Linked DNA regions of Homo sapiens: region 1 is linked to region 2. Evidence: promoter capture Hi-C in 16 types of primary human blood cells and fetal thymus (Javierre and others, 2016). All regions are on one chromosome and are shown on one strand. Each heading gives the region's core, a stretch centred on a gene start or on the middle of the fragment in contact. The rest is flanking DNA. Distances are from core to core; before and after follow the strand shown. Region 1 overlaps GRIN3A (glutamate ionotropic receptor NMDA type subunit 3A). Region 2 holds the start of NIPSNAP3B (nipsnap homolog 3B).

The links. The method cuts DNA at HindIII sites, captures the fragments that hold promoters and counts their contacts. A CHiCAGO score of 5 or more calls a contact.
Region 1: a contact is called between a fragment that was not itself captured here and the fragment with the promoter of NIPSNAP3B in region 2, in 1 of 17 cell types (M1 macrophages). The highest score is 6.7, in M1 macrophages.

What each region holds. Positions count from the first base shown.
Region 1 is chr9:101,586,433-101,591,432 of GRCh38, reverse strand. All of the region lies in intron 6 of GRIN3A (glutamate ionotropic receptor NMDA type subunit 3A), which reads left to right. Among named protein-coding and RNA genes, the nearest start is that of PPP3R2, 6.0 kb to the left of the region's middle. RefSeq lists an enhancer at 4,663-4,712. The HindIII fragment of the contact is 1,122 bases long and covers 1,817-2,938 here.
Region 2 is chr9:104,762,796-104,767,481 of GRCh38, reverse strand. It overlaps NIPSNAP3B (nipsnap homolog 3B), which reads right to left and starts at 3,353. Exons shown (of 6, transcript NM_018376.4): 1 at 3,182-3,353; 2 at 947-1,157. The coding sequence starts at 3,241. RefSeq lists silencers at 3,038-3,227, 3,425-3,624. The HindIII fragment of the contact is 4,394 bases long and covers 485-4,686 here.

The sequences.
Region 1 (5,000 bases), core at 1,128-3,627, 3.2 Mb after region 2:
CAAATCCTGAGCTTTATTTCTACCTCTCTGCATTTATCTTATTTTTATAGCTCCTATATCTACCTGTTACAAATTATTTATTATAGTCTTAACCATGTCATCAAATCAAGCCTCAGTTTTCATAAATGATGAAACTGAAGCCCAAAGAGGTAAATTGCTTGTCAAAGAACAAGCAGCCTCCACCTCTTTGGTTCTATGCATTGCAATGAAACAGATATGTTAGACGAGACAGTTTTAAGCCATGTTCCACCTTTGGCTCATCTTGAGAAACAGGTGACAATATTTAGATTAAACCGATAACGCAAACCAATATGCTCTGAGGCTATAGAGATCAGTCACAATATGTTGTTATGAATCCTATGTTAATTGGATTATGTCTGCTCTGTACCATATGTTGCAATCCCCAGACCACTAGACACTCTTTTTGAAACAGAGAAAAAAATATGGCCTCAGCAAATTCAATTTAGCTTTGGTGTATATTCTCTCATGCTTTAGAAACATTCTCAAGGAAAAAATATCTTCCAGACATTTTTGTTAATTACAAATTCCTAAGCCACTGTCTGAGGAACAGTATGAATTTTTTAAATGAAGACAATTTTTTATTTAAAAAAAGTATAAATTCCATTCTCTACTTATAGTACTGACTCTTTCTTTCTGTTAAGAGATAGAGTAGGTAGTTAGTCTGCTATGGTGTTATATCTATTTTGAATACTTTGAACAGGAGGAGGCTCGGATGTTTTTAAAAAGAGTGTTGGCCGGGCGCGGTGGCTCATGCCTGTAATCCCCGCACTTTGGGAGGCCGAGGCGGGCAGATCACGAGGTCAGGAGATCGAGACCATCCTGGCCAACATGGTGAAACCCCATCTCTACTAAAAATACAAAAATTAGCTGGGCGTGGTGGCACGTGCCTGTAATCCCAGCTACTCGGAAGGCTGAGGCAGGAGAATTGCTTGAACCAGGGAGACAGAGGTTGCAGTGAGCTGAGATCACACCACTGCACTCCAGCCTGGGTGACAGAGCGAGATTCCATCTCAAAAAAATAAATAAATAAATAAATAAATAAATAAATAAATAAATAAATAAATAGAGTGTCATTATGGTAGAGGAACAAGGCCACCAGACTGAGAATCAGACCGGACTTCTCTGCTGCCGTGTCAACTACCGTACCTACCCCAGTAGCCAATGACTGTGAACTATAAATCATGAATCATCAGGAATTAGCTGATTCATAATGAAAAATTCTAACACTGAAGGGTCACCGTAGTAGCAGTAAAGCTGTGTAGATCAGAAGACAGTCTGACTACTCACAGGCTAACTCTGACCTACAAATGTTTGCTTTCGTTGTTACTGGTTTTACATGGTGTTTGTTCTCACAATGTTTTTTAAAAATTACCAATATTTTAAATAAAACCTTTAAAGATTTTAAATAAAAACCTAAATTACTACAAAGAAATGCAGGTCACTCTAATATGGAGGTAGCTTTTTATTGACTAAGGAGTCTCTGAAATATTGAGATGAAATTAAGAGTTTCAGTGAAGAAAAATTAACATAGTTACACTCTTTGGCACAGAAGTTCAAAATGGACTGAAGGGTTCACTATTTTTTAAAGATATAACACTGGACACAAAATATTTATCCCCATAATCAATATGTTCTAATGCCTGAAACAGTAGAAAAATGTACAATAATCAAAATAAGTATAGCTGTGTAAAACTTCAAACTTTTATATAATAAAATATAACAAAACAAAGAAAACATAAAAAGGGAGAAACATAACATGTTAGCAAAAGGGTTAGCAGTTTTTCAAAAAAAAGCTTCATTGTGTCTGATATGCATAAATAAATATGCAAAAAAGTCATTATATGATTCATTCAAAAGGAGATAGGTAAAACAAACATGGAAAAATAGGCTTGCTAATTCAATAAATACAAATTACAATATTTAAAACAGGAAAAATGAATAATTATAAAACAGTTGGCAAAAATAGAAGCCTTCTAGGCATTGCAGTATCTTTGGTGGCATTGGGAATGGCTTTCACCCTTTTTATGGGTCATTTTACACATCACAAGTCATCAGAACAGTTGTATCCTTTGACCAGGTAATCTCACTCATTGCAATGTATATCTCAAAGAAATAAAAATATTTTAAAATGCTATACATGGCCAGGTGCAGAGGCTCACGTCTTTAATCCCAGCACTTTGGGAGGCCGAGGCAGGTGGATCGCTTGAGGTCAGGAGTTCAAGACCAGCCTGGTCAACATGCTGAAACCCCATCTCTATTAAAAAAATACAAAAATCAGCCAGGCGTGGTGGCACATGCCTTTAGTCCCAGCTACTTGGGAGGCAGAAACAGGAGAATCATTTGAACCAGAAAGGCGGAGGTTGCAGTGAGTTGAGATCGCTCCACTACATTCTGCCCTGGGAGTCACAGTGAAACGCCATCTCAAAAAAAGAAAAAAAAATACTATACACAAAATTTTTATTGTAGCAATATTTGTCGTATATACCATAAATTATAATATTTAAAAAATTAAACAACCACAGTTTGGGAGTAGTCAAGTCAATTATAACAAAAACAATAGGTGATAGTATTAGGCAACTAAAGTTAATAAATAAAATAATATTTAGAAAATAATATTTTTAGAAATATTAAAATAGTTTGTTAGAAAATAAGTTCTTTTAAAAGCATAATGCAAACTTGTTATATCCTATGTTTAGAACTCTGAAGAATATGTGTGCATATGGTCATTGTTCAGAAGAGAAAATGGAGCATTGAAAGTAATTGTTTTATAGTACAAGGATTATGGGTAATCTCACATTTAGTTTTTAAAAATATTTTTCTGAGTCGTTTTAATAATAAATTTTTCAAAAAACTGCACAACAGAGCTAATGTGGCAAATTAAGTACAATTTCAACCCTAAAAGATGGTCGCCCAAGCTTAAAAGAAATGGGGGCTCAAGAATCCCAAGAAACAGGGAGAGAGAAGCATCTTCACAGCAACATGGGCAGTGCCATGTTGATGAGCCACTAAGCAGTTTCCAGGTTAGAGGAATGCAGAGAGTGCTGTCAAAATCCTTGTTTATCCAAATGTGTGAGCACTACTCAGGCTCATGCAGTGTCTCCCTGGATTTTGTGTTAATAAATTATCTCCTCTTCTGTTTCTTTTGTTAAGTGTGATCTTTCACTATGTCTTGGTTAATGAGAAACTTCCAGGTTCTCTGAATGAATCTTTTTTCTCCCTCTTCATGATTCTTGTTAAATATATATGTTTTAATTCCAAATGATTGCACCGCACAATCTTACCTAACTCTCTTCAACCAGACTCTCTCACCTGGGAAACTCTGTCTTTGGTACATCTGGAGCCCACATTTCATGTGGATATCATTCTCCTACTTCTCCCCAACAAGGGGCCATATGTATAGACACAGCAATGAATCTGCCAAGTTCTTTTGAGCAACTAACTATTCTTCTGGGCAAAATAATCAGGAGGCAATAAATAAATAAATAAATAAATAAAATAGATACCAGGTCTTCAAAATTAGAAATAGCATTTGCTTCTTCCTTGTCCTGCTTCCAAGCATCTATGAGTCATCCATATTTCAGAAGCACCACAGCCTTTTTCTTTTCCTTACCTCTCATTAAAATCATTATTTCTCCCCCTGCCACCAGCTCTCTTATTAAGGAAAAAAATTCTTGAACATCGCATTTGGCTGTGCAGATCCAGAGAGGAGATGATACAAAGCTTAGTGCATTAGGTCACTGAAAAATACAATTATTTTCCCAGGTTCTTGCAGTCATTTTGCTCTGGGGAAAAATATTTAATAGGGAATGTCAGAGTAAATGTAATTAAGTTACTTTTCAGACATGTGCTTTTTATTTTTTATTGAACTTACTATATACTAGGCTGCTGGAGACAGGCAAAAGCAACACAGCCTTACCCTGTCAGAGAAGACTTCCTAAAACAGGCTCCACCCGTTCATTTCTGAGATCTGCGTCAGGATACAGTCTATCTCAAAAGAAGTTATATTCACACCTCGGAGCTAGAGGACCTTAATCCTTTAAACAGTACATATATTGAATCAGATTATTTGGTTGCAAGCAACAGATTTTTTTTTTTTTTTTTTGAGATGGAGTCTCGCTCTGTTGCCCAGGCTGGATTGCAGTGGTGCAATTTCAGCTCACTGCAGCCTCTGCCTCCCGGATTCAAGCAATTCTCCTGCCTCAGCCTCCCGAGTAGCTGGAACTACAGGCACCTGCCACCATGCCTGACTAATTTTTGTATTTTTAGTAGAGACAGGGTTTCACCATGTTGATCAGGCTGGTCTCGAACTCCTGACCTCAGATGATCCACTTGTCTCGGCCTCCCAAAGTGTTAGGATTACAGGCGTGAGCCACTGCGCCCGGCTGCAACAGATTTTTAAACTTAAGCAAAACCTATCAAAAGAATAACGGGAAAGCTCAATGTTTTGAAGTAAGAAAGAGAGTGACAGATGAAGCCTCGAACCACAGCACTCCAAGGATGCTAGTGCAGGAACTAGGGGACTATGTCTTTGGGGCACTGACATTGGAAATGACTCATCTCCAAACACCTTTGATATCCAGTGTTTCTGTTTCAGATTCACATTGACTGGCCTTGAGTCTCATGCTTTGCCTGGTGAACAGGGAGCAGGGAGTCTGTGATTGGTAGATACACCAAAACCACATGAAGCAGGAAGAGGGCAGTTCCCCAAAGAAAGGATCCTAAGAAAACAAAATCAATACATTCCTCCTGAAATTTTTGCATTCAGTTTCCAGTGTTTTACTTCAGTAATTTAAAAAATTTTTTGTCCCAGTTTCAACAGTAGATCCCTAGATTGGTGAATATTAGCATGATCAGGTCAGGCTAGCAAAACTGGGCCTTGTTTCCTCTCCTTTTAATTGAGAATGTCCATCTCCACCCTTCTCTCTTAAACAACTGTTCTAGGAAGCTTCTGTGATATAATGAGACTGTTTGGGATCGGG
Region 2 (4,686 bases), core at 2,104-4,603:
CTAAACAGTAAATGAAATTATTAAAAGTTCTTTAGGTATCCTCAAGTCCTGATGTGGACTGTTAAGAACAGACATGGAAGTAACAAACATTCTGGGGATTCTTGTTACTTGTTCTCTTTCCTCTACTAAACCAGGGGTAGGTCAGCTTCAATATGGGAAGGACTGTCTCTCATTCCTTTTCCTTACCTCCCTAGGGTAGTATGAAAGAATTCCTTGAAACTCTGGGGTACAGAAATGAAAAAAGAAGTGGTCTCTAAACATAACAGAATTATTAAATCTCAGAGTTGGGTGACGCTTAAAAGTTAACTATCATCCTTTAAAAACCTCCATTTTTATAAAGCTCCCAAATGGGTGAATTATTTCTGCAAAAATGCTGATATCCAGCCCTAGCTGTAACAATAATAAGAAAAAAAAAATTATCTTATCCTAATGACACTCCTTTACCCAAGAACTGCAATTAGGAGTCTCATAAATTTACAAAGCTTTCTCCCTTATTTAGCCAGTATTCCATCTTCGTCAATACCATATACATTAGTTACACATTTAAAACATTTTTATTAAATATACATGTCTTTTGGCAGGCCCAACGGTGATCTTAACCCACTTGAACATTTACAATTACTGCTTTAAATTTTTCATGAGCTATCTTTATAGCAAACGATTCTAACATTTTTCTGAGGATTAAAGTCTAATTCACAATTTTATGGTTTGATATATGAGACTGCATGTTTTCTCATTTATGATAACATAAGAGTTCAAGCAAGGGGTGGTTAGAGGTGTACCACTGGGAAGAAGATCTGCTAAATTTATTTTTTTGGTATTGCTTTTAAAAAGTCTTACTTAACCTGTATGTATCTATGGTAATATAGATCCAAGAACTAAGTCTTATGTTACATTTAACAGAATGAAAATCTATACTGAATACTAAAACTGGATGACTCTTTACCATACTTCCAAATATGAAACACTTTATTCGTTCTGCCTCCAAATTCTACACTCCAGAATCCAACCAATTCAGAGTAAGAGGTCCGAAGATGAATGTTTTTCTTAAGATTTTCCATGAACGCATTCATATTTGAAGGTTTAAGGTAATAAGTACGAAATTCATAGAACGTTCCATCGTATTGTCTAGGGCCCGTAGCAAAAGATGAACACACCTGAAGGAGGTAAGACAAATGTAAATATCTTGGGAAGGTACAATTACAGATTTGGTTACAACCAAATCTGAGTCTGGTACAAGGAACACACATAGACTCATTATCCATTGTTTACTTTTGTTGTCAATTCTCCATATACACTTGTTTACATAGAGATGTCAATAAAGATAACTACTCTTAATTCTGATGAATATATAGCAACTGTTTCCTAGCAGGGGTCTACCTCTAGCCATTTTTTCACGAGAATTTGCTCACAAGAAGGCTGTGGGATCATAATGATACTCCTTTACCGAAGAACTACATTTAAGACTTAGTCTCTTTAATTTACAAAGGGTTTTCCCCTGTTTAGCCAATATTCCATCTTACTCAATACCATATGTATTAGTTCCACACATTGAAAAAAATTTATTAAGTACACATGCCTTTTGGCAGGCCCAAAAATACGTTTACTAACAAAAAACTCTTGTTTTTAAAAGGTTCCTAAAAAAACAGGAAGGGCTATTCAGGTCAAAGTATTTCCTGAATCTACTGATGAAGACTACCGGTCAAAAACAGGACTGGAATGTAACTAATATAAAAGGAAGCTATAACTTATCCAATTGCATTGTACTATGGGTGTATACTGCATAAAGGCTGAAAAGGAAAAAAACTCAACAAATGAGAATTGTCTCCATCATTGTTTCTAATTACAGATGCAATATCAAGAAGTATGTACATTTAGTGCACTCAATTATACCAAGTTTATGGAACTATCCTTTAAGAACCACCCTTTGTAATAGTCATATGCCCAATGGGTAAATTTTCTGTCCTAATCTGGCCCTCTGAGCCTGAGTGAGCTTAATGTTCAGTAGCAAATGCCCTGTCAGAAATTATCCAGTCTGTCTGTATGTACGTACATGCAAATATTTATGTAAACACACGTGTATACACAGACCACTCCCGTGGCATTCTAGTTTACAAATCCATTCATTTAGGCATGGTTAGCATGTGACAATTTCCTGAGGCTCACTACCCAGAATAATCTATCGCAACAGTTTCAGTAGGCATCTTTCACTGACATATTTTTGGTTACAACATGCAAATGTCTATGTAGTTTGTGTGCATAACGTCTTAATTATAATTGTCTATCTTGAGTTCATTCATCTCCAGTATGAGTTATGCCCTTATTGCCCAAGTGTCTTAGTTTTCTTAGAAAACCCTTCTTCATACCAAAAAATACCTGCAACTATCCTTTCTTTTGATGGCCATTCTTTTTGGGTCAGTTTAATCAAATTCTGAAAATAAAAAACTGCTTAGTATCTACAGTTTAAAAATATTATTATCTCGGAAAATGGGCCAATGAGGTATTTCTAATAACTGCTTTTAAAGTTGATTTTCGGAGATTTGTATCTGGAGATGTTATCCTAAAAAAACGCAACAGCTGGCGCCACGGGGGTGTCCCGGGAGTTGTGGCATTTAGGCTAGAAACAGCTGGCATCAGGCTGGGCACAGTGGCTCATGCCTGCAATCCAGCACTTTGGGAGGCCAAGGTGGGCGGATCACGAGGTCAGGAGTTCGAGACCAGCCTGACCAACATGGTGAAACCCCCGACTCTACTAAATAGTAAACACAAAAAAAATTAGCCGGGCGTGGTGGCTGGCGCCTGTAATTCCACCTACTCCGGAGGATGAGGCAGGAGAATCGCTTGAACCCGGGAGGCGGAGGTTGCACTGAGCCGAGACTACGCCACTGCACTCCAGCCTGGGCGACAGAGCGAGACTCCGTCTCAAAAACAAAAACAAAAATCACAAAAACACTGGCATCCAGTTAGAAAACCCCTCTGACAGCGACTGCCAGCGAGACGACCCCGGCCTGTAGCCTCCTCCTTGCGCGCCAGACGGCTCCAGAGACCGCGTTAGAACTTCGGCGGCGGCGCGGGGCCCCAGGTCTGGGAGCGCCTGAGCGTGGCTCGCACGCTTCAGAAATACCCCCCGCCCCTCCCCTCCCCTCCGGCCAGGGCTCGGGCGCGCCCCCGCGGCCAGTACCTGAGGCGCGAGCGTCCGTGAGGCAAGCGCCTTGGTCAGGCCGCTTCTGAGAACGAGCATGGCGCGGCTTCGGCACTGAGAAAAGCAGCCAGCCGAGTCCTTTGTGAGACTTCTCTGAAGTCTTCCCGAGTGGAAAAAAGCGGCTCCTGGACCACTGGCGAACTCAGGCAGGGGCGGGACTCGGCGGGGTCAGCTCCACCCCGGCGCGGGAGGCGCGACAGGTCCCGCAGTTGGCGTCTTTCTCTTCGGCGCTGAGCCTCGGTCCCCCTTGGTTTCCTGAAACGTTCTTGCCCCAGACGTTAGAGGTGACAGAATTAGCTGAAGGCTGGGATCGTTCCTGCCCCACCTTTCTGGGCCCTGACCTCATTCGCTCCGATGCGCAGTTGTGTAGATTCGTAAATGTGCGGCGGTTGTGCTTGTGTTGCCCCTGGAGAAGGAAGGGGAGGTGTTCAGCGTGTGCATGTGCAGTGCTTTGCATTTAAAGTCGAGATGTTGACAGGGTTAACTTGTTTCTTTGTTTGAGACGTAGTCTTGCTCTGTCGCCCAGGCTGGAGTGCACTGGCGCGATGTCGCCTCACTGCAAGCTCCGCCTCCCGGGTTCACGCCATTCTCCTGCTTCAGCCTCCCCAGTAGCTGGGACTACAGGCGCCCGCCACCACGCCCCGCTAATTTTTGTATTTTTTAGTAGAGACGGAGTTTCACCATATTGGCCAGGCTGGGACAGGGTTAACTTTTACAGGTTGTGATAGACGTGTATTTGTAGACCAGTGAGCCTTCGCTTTTCTGCATTATCTGTCCCCATTGCCACCCCACTGTGATCTTGGAAGGCTCCTAATAAAGATTTAATTTTCCATGAGCTCAGTGGAATAGCAGCACCGAGCCTGATAGGAAAAAGTCGAAGTTAAACATAGATAGTTTGAAACTAGATCGTTCTGTAAGCCTTAAGAGCAAAACAGCCGACCTCTGGTCTAGTCCTCCCAGTCCCAGAGTACTGGTCCCCAGACTAACCACCTTCAACATTTTAAGCTGTTCTTCTAATACCTGTTTCCGTATGTTTTTTATTTTTTTGAGACAGAGTCTTGCTCTGTCGCTCAGGCTGGGGTGCAGTGGCATGATCTTGGCTCACTGCAACCTCCGCCTCCCGGTTTCAAGAGATTCTCCTGCCTCAGCCTCCTGAGTAGCTGGAATTACAGGCGCACGCCACGACACCTGGCTAATTTTTCTATTTTTAGTAGAGACGGCGTTTCACCATGTTGGGCAGGCTGGTCTTGAACTCCTGACCTCAGGTGATCCTCTCGGCTCAGCCTCCCTAAGTGCTGGGATTACAGGCACGAGCCACTGCGCCTGGCCCGTATTTTTAAATAATAGTCATTTTCTGCTATTTCTTGCATTTTCAGTTATGGAGAGTATGTGTTGCCTTCCTTCTGTGGCAGATGAGGATTTAGGTCTCACAGAAGCCACTCCCCCGGGGGCTTATCATTTGTGTTGAGAACATTCAATATCCT